Regions from separate parts of the Homo sapiens genome. Here region 1 is linked to region 2. Evidence: promoter capture Hi-C in human tissues and cell types (Jung and others, 2019). All regions are on one chromosome and are shown on one strand. Each heading gives the region's core, a stretch centred on a gene start or on the middle of the fragment in contact. The rest is flanking DNA. Distances are from core to core; before and after follow the strand shown. Region 1 overlaps NCKAP5 (NCK associated protein 5). Region 2 holds the start of LYPD1 (LY6/PLAUR domain containing 1).

The links. Contacts are between HindIII fragments. The study calls those that stand out against the background at their distance.
Region 1: a fragment that was not itself captured here is called in contact with the fragment with the promoter of LYPD1 in region 2 in 1 of the 25 tissues and cell types used here (stomach).

What each region holds. Positions count from the first base shown.
Region 1 is chr2:132,710,132-132,716,708 of GRCh38, forward strand. All of the region lies in intron 19 of NCKAP5 (NCK associated protein 5), which reads right to left. Among named protein-coding and RNA genes, the nearest start is that of LYPD1, 43 kb to the left of the region's middle. The HindIII fragment of the contact is 5,877 bases long and covers 122-5,998 here.
Region 2 is chr2:132,668,082-132,674,598 of GRCh38, forward strand. It overlaps LYPD1 (LY6/PLAUR domain containing 1), which reads right to left and starts at 2,124. Exons shown (of 3, transcript NM_144586.7): 1 at 1,800-2,124; 2 at 319-456. The coding sequence starts at 1,851. It overlaps NCKAP5 (NCK associated protein 5), which reads right to left. Exons shown (of 20, transcript NM_207363.3): 20 at 3,707-5,224. The coding sequence ends at 5,208. RefSeq lists an enhancer at 987-1,950. The HindIII fragment of the contact is 6,763 bases long and covers 1-6,128 here.

The DNA.
Region 1 (6,577 bases), core at 1,810-4,309, 43 kb after region 2:
AAAAGATGCATATGTAACTTCTGATAAAATTCAACATGACTACGTGATTCTAAAAAAACCCTTCTTAGTTAAGGAGGCTTAAAGACAACTTCCACAACCTGATTAAGTTAATCTACCCCAAAACAAAACTAAAAACAAAACAGTTACAACAAACGTCATCATCCTGAATGGAGAAACACTGGAAGTATTCCCTTTAAATATCAACAACAATCAAGAATGTCTATCACCACCAATTTAACTCAACATTGATTATAGATTCTTTTAGAAGCACATATCCCTTTCATAGAATCTCACATACAAACCTTCCTCTTAAAGGCAACTCTTAAAACAGATGTTCTTAAACCTAAGGCACTGTGTTCTGAAAAGGTAGAACACTCTTCCCACCCCAAAGCCATTATCCAGTTTCTTTTAAAAAATACTGCTCAGAAGCATAGCACATTTGAGCAGTCAATTTAAAGAAGCGGGGGAAAAAGGGAAAGTATAATTTGACATAGTTAGTTGTAAATCCAGGAGTATTATCCAGGCTAAATATCATCTCACCCTGGGACCAAGGAATTAAGCTCATTTTGCTCTTTCATCTTCAACAAATGCAGAACTTAAAGAGCTGTTTTAGCCCATAATTTCATTCATCTTATGATCCAACTGGTATTATACTGAATAACATTTGTAATTTGACTGTATTATGTGAGTGAACTTTGCACTCCCAGGAGAACCAAAGAGATATTTTATGGCACTGAAGTGACAATTTTTTTAAAAAAAAGATCCGTCTTTTTAACATTTGAGAAAGGTACTAGAAATATTGTTTCGCTTATGCTTTGTTCTGAAAATCCAGCTAAGTTTCGAATGAAGAGAATGATTTATTTCAGGACCAATGTCTTTCACTCATTCGATAAATGTTTGTTAGGTACCTCCTGCGTGCCGGGCACTGTTCTAGGCACTAGTGACATAAGCATGAGCAAAAACACTCTGTCCTCATGTTGTTTAAATGTCCAGAAATATGGTAGTGTTCTACAATAGTAAATATGAGGGTGAACCCAGGAAATCCTAGAATATGGATCCCCTATCCATCCCATGTGCTTTCCCTTTCTCTCCAAAAGCTTTCCATTACTGTCTTGAAGGTAAAAGAAAAATGTCTGGGTTGATTGCCTTCCAGGCTTTGGTCACTGCATCACACCAGAGCTACACCTCACTGAGCCTTTCTTGGGAAATTTATTTATAATAATAACATAGCCAGCATCAAAAGGGCACCTTTCAAAAAGGCATGTGGCATATGCTGTCTGATTAAAATCCTGCAATTAGGTATTATCGTCATTTGGTGGGTGAGAATCCGAGGCACAGAAAGGCTCAGTGATCCAACATTATAGAAATTAATTCAAGTTTCTTTGACTCCAAAACCTTTTTGAACATTTTCTAGTATATCTGGTTGCCTCATTCATTCATTCACCTTCTCATCAAATACTGAGTTACGTATCAAAGGAATTCTGAATTTCATGTTATTCTTCTGAGTATGAGTATAGTCTTTATCCATAATCCATAAATATCCTATTTTCCCCAGCTGTGTAATACTGTGCAACCCAGACAGACCCTCCTTTTCCCTCCCTCACCACAGAGAATGGTATAGAAAAACTCAATTAGGCCAAATAAGGATAGGATAAGGGGCACTCCTCCTTCCCTTCCTCCCTCCCTGCCTCCCTTCCTTCCTTCTCCATTGAGCTTACATTCCACTAGGGGGATGGTAGACAGGATAAATTCTAAGCTCTTTTCCAACATAAAGGCTCTAGCTTATTAGAAATGGGGAGAATAAGCAGAAATAAAGAGGCAAGTATTTTGGTGTTGTGGTTGTATAGCGAAGGCTGCAGGACAGACTCAGGTTTACAAATCTAGGCTTGTTCATCACCTGTGCTCTGGGCTGCTCCTCTACTCACCTCTCAAATTCACTGGCACACACAGATCACACCCACTGCCAGTTGGTACCACATTTGTATTATCAATTACCCTCACAGAACTGTATGACCTCTGTTCTGCTAACCAGCTGTAGGGAAACACTGGCAGTCAGAGGATGTCACCACTCTCTTCTCACCCTCTCTTCATTCCCTGATTTGCTCACTTGCCCCTCAGAGAAATCCTCTTCCCCTTTATGCCCACCCAAACCTGATTCTTCAAGACTCACCTCAAGCCCCCTTCAGGAAGATACTTTGGCTACCTCATACCTTTTGCTTAGAACTATGTTGGGATTCAGGCCTGGCGGGGTGGCTCACTCCTGTAATCCCAGCACTTTGGGAGGCCAAGGGGGGCGGATCATGAGGTCAGGAGATTGGGACCATCCTGGCTAACACAGTGAAACCCCGTCTTTACTAAAAATACAAAAAAATTAGCCGGGTGTAGAGGCGGGCACCTGTAGTCCCAGCTACTCAGGAGGCTGAGGCAGGAGAATGGCGTGAACCCGGAAGGCGGAGCTTGCAGTGAGCAGAGATTGTGCCACTGCACTCCAGCCTGGGCAACAGAGTGAGATTCTGTCTCAAAAAAAGAAAGGAAAAAAAAAGAACTATGTTGGGATTCAATCTCAGCAGTCACAGTCCATTCATTCACCCAGCATTTCAGTAGGGATTCAGTAAGCACTTACCATGTGCCAAGGATTCAGTATGAAACACCATGATCTCTGGTGTTAAGGGATAAGCAGCAGAGAACAAGAGCAATTTGATGGTCAGGGTGAAACCAAGGTGTTATGGGATCACAGAGGAGGGGCACACACCCAGATCCAGATCAACAGTACAACTGCTGGGAATTGATTCCATAGATATCCACAGAAGACAAGTTAAGTGAATGATGGTACAGCCACACAATGTAGCTGGAACAAAGAACAAGGGAGACAGTGCACTGACATGGAATGATCTCCAGGATATATTAAGTGGGAGAAAGCAAAACAAAACAAGATGCAGGATAGTGTACACAGTGTGCTCCCTTTTGCGTAAGAAATGTGCATTTTTTGCTTTGTTCAATGAAAGACTGGAAAGATGAACAAAAAAAAAAATCAATAAAAATGGTTACCTATATGGGGCTAGGGACACAGAGATGGAGGAGAGAATTCTATGTTCAAAACGACAAAGTCAAATTTTGAAAATGATATCTGAGAAAAACTTTGAGAAGCTCTCCACGTAGCAGAGACTGCTGAATACTGAAGCATGAAGACTCACTTCCTAGTCACTACAGCATTTGTTCACAGAGTGACAAAACATCAAGCCTGGCAGTATCTGGAGGAAGATATCTCTTCCCAAAGAAGGGAGGGAAGACATGTGCTGAAGATCACCAAGTAAGTTATGGTCCAAGAAGACACATGCCTTCTCCAAGATGGGTATTTAGGTCCTTCCACACATCTCAAAGATTTCATGGGACACTGTGGTGCAATGAATGCTGTTGGCATAGCTTCCAGGTTTTGCCTAAAATATATTGATCCTGTGGCCTTGCCTTCTGAATAATCCTAATAAAACTCAGGAAGACACCAGGAGATATCCGGGAAAGAAACATTACAGAATAAAAAGGGACAAAGTGACATATTACATCATAAGACAGAAAGGGCCAAACAAAAAAAAAAAGAGCTCTTATTTTAAGGTGAAAAAGTTGAGAGTAGAAGAAGAAACATTCTGTATGATGCTTGTGGGGGGTTCATAAATAGAGAAGCAAGCTGACTGGGGAAAGCTGGAAACCAACCACTAACCTCTCTGCCTGCACAAGATCCAGAGCCAGCTTGGCCAATGGAAGGGATGCTATCTCCTTTTCTAATTAAATTCCTTAAAGAGTGTGTTGATTTATTCATTTATAATAAAATCCTGTTCTAATTAAAATTGAAACTTCTCCCCACCTGATCCAGCCTCACCATATTTCTGGTTTCCATGTAATTGAATTTGAAAACAATGATGCTGAGTGATAGCTTGGGATATTGCTGCTTATTGTGAAAGTAAATAATAAAAAAGGAGAATGCTGCTAGGCTTGTTTTGGGAAGGCTTAATCAGTCCTTTCTCCCTTAGACTGAATTTTAACCACAGTTGAAGATAATATGATATTTCCCTTAATGAAATTGTATATCCGTGGCTAATTTATGAGGGAAGTTTACCTTTCTGGGGCTTTAGCTTCACATTATTTTAGTCAATAGTTTTTAAGGTCCCTGGGTTCCCCTCTCTCCCTCTGACATCCTCAACCTTCAATTCCAGAAATTGTTCTGCGTATCAGTCCATTTAATACATAATACTCAGATTTATTAGAATTCTTCAGATTGGAAGCTTTGCCACATCTAATGTCATATCTGAAACACCCATGAGAAAGAGGCAAGGTGGGCATTATGTGGTTGATGCGACTAATGCTCAGAAAGGCTGACATGATTTATCTAGGATCAAAAAGTCACTTAATGGCCAGGCACAGTGGCTCATGCCTGTAATCCCAGCACTTTGGGAAGCCGAGGCTGGCGGATCACCTGAGGTTGGGAGTTTGAGACCAGCCTGACCAACATGGAGAAACCCCATCTCTACTAAAAATACAAAATTAGCCGGGCATGGTGGCGCATGCCTCTAATCCCAGCTGGGAGGCTGAGGCAGGAGAATCGCTTGAACCCGGGAGGCAGAGGTTGCAGTGAGCCGAGATCATGCCACTGCACTCCAGTCTGGGTGACAGAGTGAGAATCCATCTCAAAAAAAAAAAAAAAAAATCAGTTAATGACACAGCCAGCGCTGAAACCCAGGTATGTAAGCTCCCAGTTATGGGCATTTCTAACATACCCAGCCAAAGGGCTCATGGCTTTGGGTTTCTAGGTTCTTGGAGGTTCACAGAGGAGCCCACTGTGTAATTCGCTGAGTAATACTTGACATTTGTCCTGGTTTTTCCCAAGCTCATCTCCTTGGTTGTATAGTAAGTGTATATCTCTAGGTTTCTGATTAGTTAAGGAGGAGCAGTTGGGATGCAAGAAGGTTTGAAATGGTCTCTCTCTTGATCCTTAAAAGTCAGAGAAAAAGCAATTAGAATATATCTGTTCTTCTTCCCCCGATACCTGAAAAGACTGCACCTTGCTTTTTCCTCTTGCACATGATAATAGTTACTTCTACAAAGATTCTTCCTGAATACCGAGCCCTTTCTTTTCCCCACCTACCCCACTTCTTCAAGAAAGTTCCTTCTACTGACCCCAGTATTTTCATTCTGCAGATGATTGTTAATCTTCCGTGTCTGGTGTAACCATTCAGTTGGAAGAGTTCTGGCAAGGGGCTCTTTCTAAATGTCTCTATGTGCTTTCGAGCCAAATATAAAACTCTAAGGTCTCCAAGGAAACCCAAACACCTGTTGACTACATTTTTTTTCTCCATTTTTTTCATCTAATTGCAATTTACCTACTTCACTAGAGCAACGTGAGGATTAACTGTCCTTGGGTAACTTTCAAGTCTGTAAAGGATTTCTGCCTCCTCAGGGCACATGTTCTCTAAGAGAGACAGAGCCGAAATACTAATAAGAGACTTAATGTGTAGCAGCCTCGAATAATCTGTGCTCTGTGTTACCACTTCAGACAGTCAGTGTCTCCCTAACACAGTCTGACAAAGACACCGTGGAGGGATCAACAGCCAAGTCTGAAAGTCCCAGACAGGAGCATGGACTTCCCTTTCAAAGCCCTTGGGAGGAAGTGATATTAACCACCAAATTAGGTAGCTGGACCAGGGCCTGGTGCACCTGCTGGGCAGGCGGGGGTGTCTGCCTGCTGTCATATTTTGGCACAAACATTTGACAGCTTCTCCCTCCCAATGAACATTTCTAATACCCAAAGGTTAATCTTTTCTTGGCTTCTTCTTGTCACTACTGACATTTTGTACCCATTATCTCCCTGTGGTTGGGGGCTGTCCTGTGCATTGTAAGGTGTTTAGCCTCATCCCTTGACTCTGCACAGCAGATTAGTATCCCCTTCCCTCTCTGAGCTGTGACAATTCAAAATGTCTCCAGACATTTGCTGAATGTCACCTGGGGGATGGAGAGGCACAATTGCACTGGTGAGACGATCCATTTTAAATGCCTGATGTATTACTCAGATTATGAGTAAACCTCTACAAAAAAGCCATCCTCAAACATGCTCATGGGGCTGCAGAAATGTCAGTTGTCTTGGAAACCACTCTTCTCCCATCCCCTAGCAAGTTAGATTTAATTCTGCTCCCCCAACATGAAGTGGAGGAGACACACAAATTTTCACAAGTGAAGCAGCATCTGATTTGGTGTTTATTTATTTAGCACCATTGCCTAGTTCCGTTGCCTAGTTTTCTTTCAGCCCTGGCGGCCAAAGCCTGCTAATTTGCACAGCATTAAGTATCCTTTGCTCCCCTCACCTATTCCACTTCAACCAAGGATTTGTCTTTTGCTTTGAAATTCCACTGTGCAAGCTCCTTTTTAAAAGTGTTGGGCTGCAACACATTTGAACTTGAGGGGGGTAACACTGGGGGTTCGGTGGTAATGGGAGGGAATGTCCATCAAAGGGTGACAAACTCTGGGGGGCATCTCTTCCCTCAAAATGTCTCATTAGGGTCCCCAGGCTTGGTCTCCATCTCTGCTGTAG
Region 2 (6,517 bases), core at 874-3,373:
CTGGTTAGCCATATATTTTCTACCTCCATCAGCTTTTAGCATAGGGAGGTGAAGGGAGTAAATAAAAAGAGGAGAGCCACTAATTTACATGCACTTCCCCTCCCAAGACCCTTGGGGAGAAGCCTTGGTAATTAACTCTAATGAGATTAAAGTAACTTGGAACTCTTCATTTTCCCAGCACTGTAAAACTAAATCTGCGATAACCAGTGTGTGGGCATTAAATCAAAGTCAGTCCTTTTTCCTGCTATTTAATGGCCCCCTCACTCCCACCCCACAGCCCAGGCTTAAGAGCGAGGGGGAGGGCTGCCAGGCTCTTACCGGCACTTTGCTCCATCACTTCTTTCTGACACATGTCTTGAACGTTCACCGTGCAATTCACAATGAACTCGGGGGAGGAGCAGTCGTTGTTCAGCTGGAATTCTTCACACTGGTAGCACTGGATTTGCAGCGCAAAGCCTGCGAGACAGACGCAGTCGGGTTCAGATCCGGCCCCCACAGAGCCCACCCCGGAAATCACGACCATCCCACGCCTCAGAGCCAGGCGGCTCCCAGCCTCTGGCAGGCTTAGACCACTCCTGGGTCTCCGGGTAGGGCTGGATGTGGCTGACACCGGCAGGGGGCGGCGCGGGTACCTAGGGTCCTACGGAAGAAAGTGGAATAGTGCCCGCCACCCCTGGACCCCGGCTCTAGACACAAAGCGCCCATCCATTACCACCCCAGGCCTTTTCCCAAGAAGTTGAAGGGAGGGTGGGGACGGTACCACCGCAAGAGTGAAGTAGCTCTGGAGATGTGCGTTAGCTCCAGCCTAAGCCAAAGGATTTGCCTAATTGCTAATTGGTTACAAATTACTTAATTACTATTTTGGCACCATTCGTGATTACATTCGCAGACGTCTTTTTAGTTTTTATTTATTTAATTTTTAAAGTCAGCGTTTCTGTGCCAGGGCTCTGAGGATCCCTGAGCGACCACCTGGGAACAACTTGGGTGGAGGTGCCAGACGCCAAGCGCTGCTGCGCCGCAAGTCCCCGAGCCCGGGTCGGCGGCCCTTCTCCGGGGCCGTCCCCGCGGCGACCCGAATGGCCACAGAGGGTGGGAAAGGGCGTTTGTGAGCGCGCGCACCCTGGATCCCCGACCCCGCAGCCCTTTCTTCCAGGCCCCGGCTTTCAGGACAACCGTTCGACTAGGGTCAGTGGTCGGGGTTCCAGCTCTGCAGAGCTTAGTCGGGAGCCAGTAGGCGAACTGGAGAGAGGACGCGAGACCTTTGCGCCTCTGGACGCTTCGGCCTGGCTGTTCTCGGTGTACGCGCTCCTGTCTAGACCCAACTACCCACGCTCCCGCAGCCCCACATCTATCGCACTCTGAGCGCAGCAACCCAGCTTCAGCGTGGCCGCAGGCTGCCTCGCGCATCGCTCACCTGTCGGCGGCGCCACTCCCACGGGGTGCCGGAGGCGCCAGACAACTTGGCAGGGTTCGGGAGATGTCGCCCCCTCTCCCTCGCCCAGAACCCAGCACCGCTCGGACCCTCCCTCCTCTCAAGCCCAGCTTCTCCCGACGGTGCAGCCGGACAAGCTGCAGCCCGGAGTCCCGCAAACCCGCCGCTCCCCGCTCTCCTCCTGCAGCGCGGGACTTGGACACTTTCCCAGCCTCGCGCCCCGGGGCACCAGTCGCGGCCGCCAACTCCCGCTGGGCAGCCCCAGCGCAGGGCTGGCCCCGAGGTGGGCGCCTTGGGGGCAAAAGGGCTGGCGGGTAGATGGATTGTGCGCACCTGGCCTCGGCTGCTGGCCTCTGGGTATTCTCACCTGGAAGCAAGAACAATCCGCAAAAAGTTGCCGCGATGCCTAGGACCCACATTCTCCCGGAGTCCCGGGGCCGGGAGAGGGCAAGCGCATCAGAGGAGGCGACAGCAGCGGAGGCTGCCCCGGCTGCAGCGGCTGTGGCTGCCGAGGCTGCTGGGGCCCGCGCTGCTGCCGCGGAGACGACGGTCGTAGCTTAGAGGAGCCGCAGGTGCCGCTCGCGGAGCCTGCATCGCCCGCGCTCGGGCTCCCGGCTGCGGGTCTCTGCTCCTCCCGCTCGCGCTCCCGGGCCGAGCACCGCGCCTCCGGAGTTGGCGGCTGAGACTGAAGGAACTACTGGCGATCGGGAGCACCCACAAAAGTCTCGCCTTTTCTCCCCACCTCCCACTCCAGGCATCACGTGACGGCTGCCGAGTTGGGGTGGGGGTGGCGGGCGGGGAAGGCTGGGACGGTCGCTTCACATCCCCACCCCCTTCCTGTCTTCCTCTTCTCCCGCCTCCGCACGTTCCTGGGAAAGGGGCGCCGGGGGGCGGGAGAGAACTGGTAGTTTTCTGAGATGGGGAGGTTGGGGGAGCGGCGAGGAGGGCGCAGCAGGTGCCGTGGGGACCTGCCGGGTGCGGACTAGGGTCTGAGGACTGCGTGCCCGGCTGGCCCTTCGCACATAGGAAGGCAGCCTCCCCACTCCACGTCCTCTGCGCCTTCCAGGACTGGTCGGTACCCCAGCGACTGGGTCCAGCCCACACAACTGAGGCTGTCCCGCTGCGGGCCGCGGGAGCCTGGCGCCCCGGGAGGCTGACAGGAAGGGCGCGCGTTCCCGTGCGCCTGGCAAAGTTCCACGCCCGCAGGCTCCGTAGGGTGTCCTGTGCAGCTGTGCCCCCTCTTCCTCCGCGAAGGCCTTCTGTCAAGAACCAGCTCGGCGTGGCCAATCTGGGTGGGGGTGTGGTGGGGACACTGCCTTAACTGTCTCACTTGCCCGGGCCGCCCTCCCTTCTCCCGCCTGCGCGCACCGCTGGAGGGTGCATTGACACCGCCCTGGTCGCCTAGCCTAGGAGAACGCCGTCCCGGGGACACCTGCCGTGAGGTCCTACCAGAAAGCAAATCAGGGTGAGGAAGAGGGTTGTTCTCCTCCATTCCTTGTCTCCCAAACGCCAGCCGGCTCCATTCTGCTTTCCCCAAAGCCACCGATTATTAGCACATACTCCCACGTCCTCTCCTGAAAGGCCATCCCAGCCTCGGACTCGGCCTCTGGCTGCTCCCCACACCCCTCAAATTCGTCTTCTTTCCGCAAAGTCCAAGTGACCCACCTTGCGGACTCCCGGGGATGCCCCGGTGCTATCTTCGCCTTCCTTCCCGAGCCTTGCAGCAGGTGGTGCGGGAGACCGCTTGCCCGCCGGAGTGCGTTGGTGCCCCCGCCCCCAATCCGCACATTCCCATCCCCTTTCCGCACATCCTTAGGGAGCATCCATTTCCGTGGAAATCGCCTCCTAAGCTTTAGCTCCTCTTCACCCTTTTCTCCCCCGGCCACTTCTGGGGGCAGCTCTCTCACGCCGGGACGCTGATCATTTATTTCTGCATCCTCCCAGCAGAGCTGGTCTGTAAAGGGGCTTAAATGACTTTCTTTGTAATTCCTCTGCAGAGATCGTTCCATATCTGCCTCAGGCTCCTTCTCTCCCTCCCTCCCTCCCTCTCCCCCTTCTTTCATTTCTATTTGGTTAACCCCTCGGGGAGACTGAAATGCTTTGACCATTACTCACCTGTCTGCAGACTCTGATCTTACAATTGGCTAAATTACTATCTCTGGAGCAAAAGGGCCAATTTATTTATTCCTTCTGGGAACCCATTGTAAGAGCACGTGTGAGTCATGATTCAAGTAACTGACTGGGCCAAAAGGTCCTTGAGCAAGTTATTTTCTGTTTTCAGAGGGTGCAAATGTGATATAACTTTTATTCAGAAAGGAAACAAAAAGATTTTTTAAAGTCTGAAAGACAAGGACATTTTACATAATTTTCATTTAAGATAAAATAAAACAAATTGCACAAATTAACCAAATAACACTGATCATACAATACTCTTTAAAGAAACAATTATGTGCTAAAGTAGCCATATAGATCCTAAAAATATTTCTATTGGGCCTAGTTTACAAGCTCCTGTACATAAGTAATTATAAATAGTTCACATCTAGAAAAAATACACATAACCTTTAAAATAGAATTTATCCTTACATATAAACAGTCTTTGTAGAAAAAAAAGGATATTAAAAAGAATTCTTCGTAGCACCATTAATTTTATTTTTAAAAGTGAACATTGCAAATAGAAATTTGTTTTCATTTTTAGAGTGCCCAGATTTTAATAAAAAGAGCAAGAAGATAAAAATCAAATAATATTCAGGATCATAGAGAAGCACTAAGTAAAAGACAATCTAAAGAAATGTCTGGAAGGAAAAACTGGTATTGGGAATAGAATTCGGTCATTTCTGATACAATGTCACACTCCCAATCAGTGTCCACACTTCAGGACCCTTTTCATTTTTCAGCAGAAGCAGAATGACACTTATTACTATCACCTGAATCTCTGGCAACGAATCTGAAATTACACTAAAATGAACATTTCCATCAAATTGAGATTTGTGAGATGGAGATGAGGAGGAACCCTCCGATTTTTTGGCAGGCCCTGTTGTAGGTTTACAGAGTGTACCCACAAACAATTTGAGGACCAGGACAACGAACTTCACAAAAACTTCAGTTGGGATTTTAAAAAATATATATTATCATCAACTTCTAAGACTTAGTACATTATTTCAAGAGCATGGCACTGATTCCATTTATTGCTGTCTTTTTTTGCTACAAATATAATTTCTCTTCCAAAAAATTTACAACTTCTGTACAAATATTCAAAAAAAGTGCAAAATTAAGGATTCTGTATCATAGATGTGTTTACGCTTAATCCTCTTGAAACACAATAAATGGAGTCTATCTTTATTGCCCTGTCAGAGAAATAAGCTCTGGTGGGTTGCCTGCTGTGAATTTGACAAGGAAGGCTCTGGTACTGCAATAGTTTATTGTTATCTCTATCAAGCGGTGCACCCCCCACCCCCCACCCATCATTTCTTAAGCGCTCCAGTCCCAGCTCACTAAGGGAAGAGATGTCCTTTATACATCATTTGAACCTTGACTGGCACAGGAAGAGAAGCTATCATATAAAGAATCACTCAAAGATTCCAAGTTGTCTACCCCAGGCCTATCTGAACTACTCAAAGATGTCTCTTCATTTTTTTCTTTTTCTTCCTTCTGTCCTTCAACCTTGTTCAGAGAGTTCTTCTCTTTTTCTAATAAAATCACAGTATTGCTGTTAAATTTATTGAATGACTCTAGGGAAATTTTCGATAATCTATTCTCGGGATCGTCTTTTGTTTCTTCAAGTTGTCTCAATTTCTGCAATAAAAAGAAGAAAATATTAGAAACATATTTCTTTGGAAAATCAAGTTATCCTATCTAATATTCAATTATTGTCTGTATAAAGTACAGTTTAAAGGGACAGAGAAAACCTACAAGTCTTTAATAATCTTCTAGTATAATTAGATGTAATAATAAAGCCAATTTTAGGGATAAATCAGGACTTTAATCATTTTACTGAGATAAATAGGTCCCAATTTGCAAATTAAGTGCCACTTAATTTCATTTTAAATGGATCCATTTGAAATTTGTTCAGGTAAAGTGCCTTATTTTTCTTCATCAAAGTTTCAAACTCCTCTCTTTCCTTGCTAAGTATTAGCTGTACTTTTTCTAAATATGAGTAGGTATTGAATTTCAGCCAGAAGTTATGGTAATATGTTTTTTTCTAATAAAAAAAAGACATAAAAATCCCCTAACTTGCCATTTTTGAATACATGTTAAGCTTGTTAGAAGCATTGCCATTTTAGTATTTTGTCCCTTTATAGGACTTAAGATATTTGAAAGAGATCTCCAGGTTTTTGGGTGTAGATCCCAGAAGGCCCAAGGGCTTAAAAATTAAAGCGGCAGGTGAACAGCTGAGTAACCCCTCTGCTCCAGAAGGTCTAGTAATACCAGTTTATACTGGGATATTACTGTTATTAATACCCTGTATGATGTATAAAGCACTGCACCAAATTCAATAATTATCATAGGTAAACCCTGTAAACATGAATATATTCGGTTGCTCAGTTGGCTCCTAAGGGCTAAGGTGAGGACAGAGGGAGGCACACTTGCGAAAAACAATGAGAAAAACAGACATGTAAAAGTGTCTACAATATTTCTCATCTTCTTTTCCTCTTTCCAGCAGAAATTCCATCCAAACACAGGAAAGAAGCAGGCCCGGGGGCTTGGAGATGATAGTAAGTGTTACCATTTATTAAGCATCCACTAGGTAAAAGACACTTAACAGATTCTATCAGCTTTTTCACAAACCTACAAGGTAAACGACCCCATTTTAAAGAGAAGGTATGCAAGGCTCAGAGTGACAGAGATATTTGCCCAAGGTTGCCCAGCAAGTGGCAGAGAACAGGATTTGAATTTCTGTCTGGCTGCCTTCCATGCTCTTGTTCTTTCCATTAAACCATGTTCTTAGGTAATAAAGGACACAATGTCCTGTTTTCCATTTTGTTACCCAAAAATTCCACTTAAATAACTTGCCAAACCGTCTCTAACATGTGCAGTTCTGCTGTGCACCATGCTCCCCACCCCCAACATTGTTATGCTGGACTCAAC